Regions from separate parts of the Homo sapiens genome. Here region 2 is linked to region 1. The links are contacts of gene promoters, found by promoter capture Hi-C in blood cells and fetal thymus (Javierre and others, 2016). All regions are on one chromosome and are shown on one strand. Each heading gives the region's core, a stretch centred on a gene start or on the middle of the fragment in contact. The rest is flanking DNA. Distances are from core to core; before and after follow the strand shown.

The links. Contacts are between HindIII fragments. The CHiCAGO score rates a contact against its expected background, and 5 or more counts as called.
Region 2: a fragment that was not itself captured here is called in contact with the fragment with the promoter of IHH in region 1 in 1 of 17 cell types (M2 macrophages); the score reaches 5.7 in M2 macrophages.

The regions. Positions count from the first base shown.
Region 1 is chr2:219,057,714-219,062,570 of GRCh38, forward strand. IHH (Indian hedgehog signaling molecule) reads right to left here and starts at 3,208. Exons shown (of 3, transcript NM_002181.4): 1 at 2,440-3,208. The coding sequence starts at 2,754. LOC124906120 (a long non-coding RNA gene) reads left to right here and starts at 3,980. Exons shown (of 3, transcript XR_007088092.1): 1 at 3,980-4,857. It overlaps MIR3131 (microRNA 3131), which reads right to left and starts at 1,037; the gene lies at 975-1,037. The HindIII fragment of the contact is 5,239 bases long and covers 1,638-4,857 here.
Region 2 is chr2:219,264,650-219,269,941 of GRCh38, forward strand. TUBA4B (tubulin alpha 4b) reads left to right here. Exons shown (of 4, transcript NM_001355221.1): 2 at 1,872-1,917. Among named protein-coding and RNA genes, the nearest start is that of DNAJB2, 12 kb to the right of the region's middle. The HindIII fragment of the contact is 2,144 bases long and covers 2,348-4,491 here.

The DNA.
Region 1 (4,857 bases), core at 1,958-4,457:
GAAATCAACCAGAGCGAAATCAGCCGGAGGAGCCGGCCGAGGTGCAGGTGTAGGCGCAGCCTCGCCCAGAACTCTCCCGCCACACCCAAGGGAGCTGGAAGCCCGGGAGGGTGCTGTCCCTCTCCCTTAGGAACAGAGGGCCCTGAAGTGCTCCCTCCCTAGCATACAGCCGCCCCCGGGGATCTGGACCGCACGGCGGTATCACAAATCTGGAGGAGGCATGGAGGCAAGCGCCCTGGCGGCGCCTTCACTGGTAGGTGGAGGTCCCCTCTCTCCTGTGCTGTCTTCAGCTCCGGGTATCCATCCCTCCACAGACAGGACTACACCTTTCAGCGCCCGGTCCCTCTGTGCCTCCAAGGCAGGAGGGCCAGCCAGCGGCCGGGAGGGAGGAGTGGCAGCAGAGCCGACTGCCTGCGGCCGGCCTGCGAGGCGTGCAAGGCCCGAGGTGCCCAGTAGGTGTCACCGCAGCCTCAGGGCTGAGGCCTGGGGACGACAGGCTCTGGAGGCGCGGCAGGTGCAGAGCGTCTCGGTAGCTTCAGGGGGTGTGTTGGAGGGGAATCGCCGGCCTGCCTGGATCCCTCGAGCACCACCGAGGATTCCCGCCGGGACCCTCTTATAATCTTAAACCGGCCCACAACCCCGCCAGAGATGACAGGGCCAGGGAACCAGAAACCGGCGGATTAGCGCCAGGGCCGCCCAATGGGGGGCCACATGCAACGTCTTCCTCTGCAAGGCGCAAAAGGGGCTGACAATCCCAGACCTCCAGGACCTCTGCACCGGTGCCCCGCCCCTATACCGTAGGAAGGAACTCCATAAACCAAGCTTCTGATCTCAGGGAGCCAGCTCCACCATCCTCCTCACGTGGAGTTGGGGTAGAGCCGCGCCCTGGGGGAAGGACCGAAGCGGTCATCCTTGGTTGCTGCCTCCTGGTGTGCCTGGGTCCTGAGAGCCCAAGAGACTGTGCAGCTGACTCTGAGAAGAAGCTGGGGCCAGGGCCTTGGTCTGAGGGGAAAGGCCCTTCCACCAGTCCTCGACTCTGAGACTCTGAGATTCGAGGCGCCAACAAGTGTGGGCAGCCCAAGTCTCAACCTACCCCCACCCTGCAGAGCCCGGGCCTCACAGACCCTTGGACTCAGCCTTCCTAGGAGCCAATAGCAGCTACAACCCAGGGCCTCGCAGGTCCTCGCTGGTGCACAGCCTGGCTGGGGGTGCTTACTGCCCAGGGAGGGAGCTCCGCTTGCTCCTTCGTAGACCCTGCCGTCAGGCTTCTAGCCCCGCACCTATGCCCGCCTGCAGCCCTGGTTCCCCGCCTCTCTCCCTCACTGCCACCGCCCCCTCTCGGGTCCAGAGCCCGGGCGTGCGCTGTCAATGATTGCCCAGCCCGTGGCCCGGATCCTTATCTGCATTCCTCGGCGCCCGGCCCGGCCCGGCCACCAGCCAACCTTCGGCCCCGACACTGGCCGGCCAGCCCCGGCGCCAGGGTGCATGCTGAGGGCCCTGAGTCTAGCTGCTCTTCCCAACGGATCTAGAAAGCCAGGGGCCTGCTTTCAGGGGGAAGCCTCGGGAGACCCCGAAGGAAGGGGGTGAAGGTCTCTCCCCTCGCGGACCTGGCTGCTGGGAAGGAATTTGCGCCTCTAAGCTTGGGTGGAGCGCGGGTCCTACTCCAGCATGCAGAGACTAGCGTCAGCCCTGGTCCCTGCCTCCCTCGGCATCTCAGCCCCTCTTTTCCACTCCTTCCCGTCCCCACCACCAAGCCCAGGAATCCCCTAAGCTCAGTCCCAGAGCCCGAAGGCCCCAATAACCCACCCTTCCACCGCAGTAGCACCCCTCAGCTCTCCGGACAGACACGTGGGCTCGCTGGGCAGGTTCCTTTTCCCACCTCCGCCTCCCGATTCAACTCTTCCTCGCTGTTCTTAACCCCAGACCCAGCCGGGACGCTGCTCCTGGAAGGGGCAGCCCGTAGAACCAAGAGCGCACAGGGAGGAAAGGCCGTGGTGACCCTACGCACCCAGAGATTCTTTGCCTCAGGGGTGCCGAAAAGTTTCAAAATGAAAGGGGCACAGCTGTGCAGAAGGTTAGGCCGGGAGGGACTGCGTGGGTCCTGGAGGCGCAGGAGGCAGCCGGGTAGAGGTACCTCCGGGTGCAGCGTCTGGCTGAGCTGCCAGTACTTTGGGGCAGAGGAGCCGCCGCCAACCTGCTGGGCTGTGGGGCTTGGCAGCGGGGAGCTCTTCTAGCAGTCTCCTCCGGGCTTGGGGATGCCGACACTCCTGCCTGGACCCCTGGCCAGCCCATCTTGGGCAGGAGGCAGCGGGGCTTGGCGAGAGGGGCAGGTGCCAGGGAGCGTGCCAGCCAGTCGAGAAAATGTGCCAGGGGGTGGGTAGGGCCGGGCAGGTGGCCGTGCTTCGGTGGCGGCGCGCTGGTAGGGCGGATCGCGCTCACCTGGGTCATGAGGCGGTCGGCGCCTGTGTTCTCCTCGTCCTTGAAGATGATGTCTGGATTGTAATTGGGGGTGAGCTCCTTGAAGCGCTCGGAGCTGCGAGCGATCTTGCCTTCATAGCGTCCGCTGGCGCCCAGGGTCTTCTCGGGCACATTGGGGCTGAACTGCTTGTAGGCGAGCGGCACGAGTTTGCGTGGCGGTCGCCGGCGGCTGCCCACCACCCGACCCGGCCCGCAGCCCCATGCCGCCGGCACCACCAGCAGCAGCAACAGGACCAGGCAGAAGTGCAGTCGGGGCCGGAGCCGGGCGGGAGACATGGCCGGGGAGCCCGGGGGAGCGGCGGGCGAGGTCTCCTGGTGGGCTGATGGGCAGGCGCGTCGACGGGAGCGCTGCGGGGGCTCAGGCGTCCGGGTGGCTCCGGGGGGCTCCAGGCGGGGGCGCCATGGGCGGCGTGGTGCGGCCAGGGCCGGCGGGACTCAAGTGCGGGGCGGGGGCCCAGGGCCCGAGCTGGTGGCGGCGCGCTGTCCCCCTCGGCGCCTCGACTCTGAGCTGCCGGGCTCGCCGGCCGCCAATAAATAGGCCGGCCCGTTTGTTTTGGCAACGCGGCGGCGGCGGGGGGCGGCGGGCGGCGGGGCTGCGGGCCGCCGGGCTGGGCTGGGCTGGCCGGGCCGGCGGGCTGCAGGGCCCCGCGGTTAGCACCCCGGCCCGGCGGTCAGGCGGCTCGGGCGGAGCGGGAGCTGCTGCCGTCTGCGGCGCAGCCCGGGGCCGAGTGAGAGGGGAAATGGAAGAGATCCGGGCTCGGGCCCCGCGCAGACCGCACCCTACCCATGTCCCTGCCTCCTGTGCGCTCGACAGCGAACCTGCAGCAAGGGCAGCACAGCCTCCTCCCCCTCGGGCGGGCGGCCCCGGCACTAGCCAGCCCTCGTCCCGCTCGCGCCTCCGCCGCGCGTCCGCCCGCCCGCTGCCCTCTGCGCCCCCTGCGCTGCCCGAGTTTGCCCTCCCCGCCTGGACGCGCCCCACCCCGCCCTGGCCTCGCCTACCGGCTCTTCGCGGCTCTGGGGTGCCCCGCCAGGCGCAAACCTCCCGGACAGGAGCTGCCACCCCCACGGAGACCGCAACCCACGGCGCGGCCGGACGCGAGGGGCGGGGGGCAGTGGCCGGACCGCACAGCCGCCTACGGTGTCCCCTGCGGGGAAGCAAACCCAAAAGGCAGGAGGCCACTCATAACCTGGTGCCCCACCCTGGCCCGGGCGACGCGCCCTTTCAGCTTGGTGGAGCTGGGTTCTGTATCAACCTGGTGCACATCCCACAGCCTGCCTGTCGGTGTCAAACTGGGGATGGGGAGTCTAGCCTTTTGAAGAGTCAAATAGGGGGTTTTAAGTTGGAAACACTGTTGAAAGTGACAATATGAAGTTGCAAAGGGATAGGTCAATATGCAGAGAAGGGTAGCTAAAATGGTGACGTCAACAGAATACCGAGGAACCCCGACTGACCATGTTAAAGAGGGGCAGCAAAGATCTCAGTAACGGGGGCTTGGTATGAATGCCAAAATGATGCAAAGCCACCGGAACTGCTAAATAATTACTTGGTTCTATATTACACATCTAAAAGAGCAGAGAATATGTAGAAACAACTAGGAACGTGAACATGTGTTATGTGTTTTTATATGACATTCGAGAAAGCTGAATGAATTAGGATCCCTTCTGCCAAAACAAGTAAAGGCAAGTGTGTTAAAAAGCAAACAAAAAACATCACCACCACAACACCAAACTATATGATTTGACTGTAATAGATTCTACAAATCCAATAAAGGTAGAAATGAAAAGATGAGAAATAAAAAGACTTAAAAATTCTCACTCAAATGCTATTAATACAATAGGTACCATTTTATTGGTACTTATATTCCTGAACATGGTAGTTATTAGATATTATTGTACTATGTCTTCTACTTGCATTATCTAATTTAAACTCGAAACGGCCAAAGGAGCTATTACTGTCCACATTTTACGAATGAAGATATTGAAGTTCAGAGAAGATGAACAACTTGCTAGTGGCTGAAAAGCAGGGATTGAAGCCCATGACTCTGGCCCAGCCCCAGTTTTTGCCCATGCAGGTGCATTGTCCCTCTGTGCAGGACCAGTCCACTCAACACCACTGGGTTCGGGGCTGAAGTAGCTGTTCACAGATTTACTCACACTCTCTGGATCGGTTTTATAAACACAAATTCAGGATTGGATGAGACTCAAGAGAGTGCTTAATCTAAGCGCTTGATATTACAGAAAAGGAAACTGAGGCCCACAGAAAGAAATTTAGGATTGCTCCACTAGGAGTGGAGTGGTGCCTGCAATGTGGAAACAAAATGGATCGCCTCCTTTCCTCCCCTTTGCCCGCACCTTCTCCCCACCCCGCATGTTCTCTCT
Region 2 (5,292 bases), core at 2,170-4,669, 210 kb after region 1:
AGTGTGGATACGCTGCACACAGGGATGTTCTAGACATGATGGAGTAGGATGGCACTAGATTTCATCACACTACTCAGAATGGCGTGCAGTTTAAAACGTATACATTGTGTTTTTCTGGAACCTTCTCTTTAATATTTTCAGACTGTGGTTGGCTGCAGGCAACTGAAACTGCAGAAAGTGGCTAATGGGGGGCTACTGTGGTGTGATTTCCAGGCAACATGAGGGCCCATTTGAGGCTAGTGGCCATGCGTTCGAAACATCAGTCAGCATGGTTCTGGATTTTTCTATGGCCACTGTTTAGCTGGGTGAGTGCAGACACAGAGCTGGGGACAAAACAAATTTAACCAGGGTTCTGGTTTAGTCAAACAAGGATGTTGAAGCTAGTGGGAGGCAAGACAGTTGAGGGGTACAAAAGGGAGTGACCCTGGCTGGCCATGGAACTGAAGACTGGGAGGAAGGAGATAAAGACCGAGGAGGGGCTGCTGTGCACACTCTGCCATGTGGAAAGAGGGGAAGCAGAGCCCGAGTCCCAGATAAATCTTAATTCCAGCATTAATTAATCCCCATGTGACCTCAGGCAGGACACTAGGGATTTCAATTTCCTTTCCTTCATCCTGGGAAAGGGAGGCCCTGCCTTGCCTACCTTACAGAGTTGTTGAGGGATTCAAAGGAGGTACGGAGAGAAGGTGCCTTAAGCATAAAGCAGACTAGGCGCAGGGGCTCATGCCTGTAATCCCAGCACTTTGGGAGGCTGAGGCAGGTGGATCATCTGAGGCCAGGAGTTTGAGACCAGCCTGGCCAACATGGTGAAACCGTGTCTCTACTAAAAATATAAAAATTAGCCAGGCCTGGTGGCAGGTGTCTGTAATCCCAGCTACTCAGGAGGCTGAGGCAGGAGAATCGCTCGAACCCCGGAGGTGGAGGTTGCAGTGAGCTGAGATTGCACCACTGCACTCCAGCCTGGGCAACAGAGCAAGACTCCTTCTCAAAAGAAAAAAAAAAAGATGCATAAAGCAGGATACAAATGCTAGAGACTAGCCTTTTTATTTCAGAATTTTGCCTAAGACTATCGGGAGACTCCTTTTCTGGGGACATAAGGCCAGGCTAGAGCAGCAGTGACTTGCCATGGCCTAGGAAGAGACATTTAGGAAGTGCCTTGAGGCCCTGCTCATCCTCTTGCTTTGCCCTTGGAGAGCAACAGCTGTTTTGGACTAAGCACTTAAGAAAGGTTACCTTGTTAGTACCTCGTAATACTACCTCTCCCCATTCTCCAGAGAGAGAAAAAAAAAGAAGTTTTAATTGCTAGTAGCTATTAGAGGTGGGATTAAAACCAAGCTCTAGGTCGCTTGTTCTATGATATTCTGAGTTTCCAGGCAGGATGTCCTGAGGCTTGATCTCTTGGCCGAGGACTCATTATTTCTGGATCATTGCAGAGATCTTCTTAGTCCCACCCACAGTCGACTTACAGCCCTCAGCAACCCTAGGGCAGGGGAGTGCAGGGGTTTGATGGGTGGGGGCGGTGCTGGAGCTCAGGGTCTTGATTTCTAAATCATCTTCCACCTGTGAAGTGCAGGCTGTGCCACCAGGAAATGGGATTGCGTGACTGACAACAGATACCATGTACCCAGAGGCCTGGATACCTGTGTGGAGTTACTAGCCCTGGCCCCTCCTCTGCCCACCTCAGCTGGCTCCCCTGTTTGGGTGCAGGCCCAGAGCTTGCCTCGTACTCTGTGACCAAGTCAACAGGCCCTGCCCTCCCAGGCCGTTTCTAACAACATCCACCTGCTGAGAGCCACCCAGCGAGTATAAGGAGGAGGCTGGCTGGCCGCTGCAGGCCTCTCACAGATCTATCCCTGCTCACTATCCTGCAGCAGACAGAGAGACAAGACCCCAGCCAGCCCCTGTCCAGGCAGCATGGTGAGTAGAAGGGGCCTTGGGGGGACTGAGCATGCAAGTGAGGGTCCCAGTGGGCCCAAGATATCTGGCGTGAAGGTACCTTGGGAGTCCACATGGTGATGGGGCTACAGTATGTGGCGAGGTGGGGAGAGGGAAAGAGACTTCCAGATGTGGCTGTGGCCCCCAAATGTGCAGGTGTGGGGGGCATCACAGGGGGTAGGGAAGGAAAGTTTAATGGTAACCAGGTTGTGGGGCTGAGCCTAGGCTGAGAAGCAGGGCTGCTGAGGGGGTCTGAATTTAGGTGTGGGGAGTGTGGGGGAAGCAGGACTTGAGCAGAAAGTGTAGGCGATTTCCTCTGCTGGCTGAGGATCTCCAGACCCTGGGCCTTGCCACAGGTTCACTGTTGGGCTCTGATCCCACCTTCCCACCATGGGGACACATCCTCCATGGAAGCTTCTCCCCTCTGGTTCCTCCCTCCACCCTGCCCATCTGCTGTGCCTTTGTCTGACCTCTCATGTCAGTTACAGATCAGTGGGGAGAAGAAGGAGGAGGGAAAAGGGGGTGCTCCCATCTGTCAAGAGCTGGCTGTGCCTGGGGCTTATTTGATATCTTTTACCCACCTCCCTACCAGGCAGGATAGAAGAACAGTTAAGAGCATGGTTGGTGCCAGGCCATCCCTGCTCTAAATATTCTTGGTTTTGCTCATGGCCTTGAGCAAGCTACTTGACTTCTCTGAGGGTCGGTTTCCTCATCTATAAATTGGGGGTAATAAAACTACCTACCTAAGGTGAATGTGGTAAAGATTAAATGAGATAATGTGTATAAAGTGCCACCTTCACCTGGCACCTTATTAGTGCTTAATAAGCAGAACTAAGCAATGTAACAACACAGGCCGCCGGCTATGAGATTCTTCTCTTTCTACAGTCATGAAAAAGGTGCTAGGGAAGCTGAGGTGAAATGACTTGTATTGGATCACAGAGAGATGGGGGTTTGAGGCCAGGTCTGTGTGACTCCAGAGGCTGAGTTCTTTTTTTTGTTTTTTTTTTTTTGAGACGGAGTCTCATTCTGGAGTGCAGTGGCGCAATCTCGGCTCACTGCAACCTCTGCCTCCCGGGTTCAAGCGATTCTCCTGCCTCAGCCACCCAAGTAGCTGGGACTACAGGCGCTTGCCACCACATCTGGCTAATTTTTGTATTTTGAGTAGAGACAAGGTTTCACTATGTTGGCCAGGATGGTCTCAATCGCCTGACCTTGTGATCTGCCCACCTCGGCCTCCTAAAGTGTTGGGATTACAGGCGTGAGCCACTGCACCCGGCCAGGGGCTGAGTTCTTTGCCCCAAAACTGCTGCCTCCAGTGTGAGACATCATTCCCAGAGGGGCCAGAGACACCTTGCATGGGCTAGTAGTTCTGGGGGCCAGGACGATGTCTGGGTCTGTGGACAGAACTGGCTGGTCAGGCTCAGAGGTGCAGCACCAGGCAGGTGATTGGTGAGCCAAGGCAGCCCCAGGATTGGACCTGGGATTTCTCCTGTCCTTGAGGTCTCAGCTCAACTCATTATCTTTTTTTTTTTTTTTTTTTTTGAGATGGAGTCTCACTCTGTTGCCCTGGCTGGAGTGCAGTGATGCAATCTCGGCTCACTGCAACCTCCACCTTCTGGGTTCAAGCAATTCTCCTGCCTCAGCCTCCCGAGTAGCTGGGATTATAAGCATACACCATTTTTGTATTTTTAGTGGAGAGGGGGTTTCACCATGTTGGTCAGGATGGTCTCGAGCTCCTGACCTCAAGTGATCCACCTGCCTTGGCCTCCCAAAGTGCTGGGATTACAGGCTTGAGCCACTGCGCCCAGCCTCAATTCATTACCTTCTCTTACTATGACATCAGGGATTGAGGGTGGGAAATTGGAAGGGGAACCCAACATGCATGGCACACCCTAGTGTGTGTTAGGCAGTGGGCCAGGCACTTTGCATGCATTCTTTCATTTAATTCTCATAGTTTTTCTAGGAGGGGCTCTTATTATTGTCTACATTTCAAAAGGAGAACATTGACAAAGAGGTTAAGATTTTTGCTCAAGACAAGTAGAGAAGTAATTGGGCTGGAATACAGATTATTTATGGATTAATCTCAGTCATCTAAAAATCATGAAAAGTCAGGCCTTTGTGTTATATAAAAATAGTCAATGAAGTGTTACATTTTTGGAGAAGTCATCCTCATTAAACAATTAAGAAATATTTCAGGAATGCAAAAAGGTATAAATAATAACATGATAGGCTGGGCGGCGGTGGCTCATGCCTGTAATCCCAGTACTTTGGGAAGCCAAGGCAGGTAGACTGCTTGACCCCAGGAGTTTAAGACCCACTTGGGAAAGATGGCGAGACCTGTCTCTACAAAAAAATTTAAAACTTAGCCAGGCATGGTGGTGCATGCCTGTAGTCCCAGCTACTCGGGAGGCTGAGACAGGAGGATCCCTTGAGCCCAGGAGTCCAAGACTGCTGTAGTTAACTATGATCACATCACTGTACTCTAGCCTGGGTGACAAAGTGAGATTCTGTCTCAAGAAAAAAAGAAAAGAATAATGTGATGAACAGCAGCTATCAAGCTTGAGAAATAGAATCTGTCTCCAATTGCATCTATCTGCTTCCCCTGCCAGAGAGCACCATTATTCCAAATTTGGAGTTAATGTCTCCTGTGCTTTATCTTTGTACTATTTTCCCTTGCTTCCCTCACCAATGGCTCCTAATTTCTTTCTGGACACTGGTGGGTAGATTATCTTGCACTTCTAGATTCATTCGATTCCTTCAATGTTGCTCATTGAGACAGGCACTGAGCAAGAGTCTATAATCTCAGGACTGCCCGCATCTTCTGCTTCCCCCAATGATTTTGGCCCAGCCCCTACAGCCGATGCCTGTTGCTCCTCAGTGCCACCAGTAAATGCTTAGATGCAGGAGGCGAGGCAAGCAGAGTAGAGTCCAGGAACCTTGGCCCTCAGCCAAAGAGCCACTCAAGGAAGGCAGGCAGGAACCATGTCCAGGCATGATATGTTTCCCTCTGTGAAGGCCGTTCTCTGCCCTTTGCCCACTCAGTGTGAGTGCATCTCAGTCCACGTGGGGCAGGCCGGTGTGCAGTTGGCAATGCCTGCTGGGAGCTCTACTGCCTGGAACATAGGATTCAGTCTGATGGGCAGATGCCCAGTGACAAGACCATCAGGGGAGGGGGATGACTCCTTCAACACCTTTTTTAGTGAAACTGGGGCTGGGAAACATGTGCCCCAGGCGGTGTTTGTGGATCTGGAGCCCGCTGTGATGATCAGTCCCAGCCACAACCTTGTCCCTGGGTACCACAGCAAGTCCTACTCCATAACTGCAGAGCATGGTGTCTGTGGTATAGCTTCCCAGGTG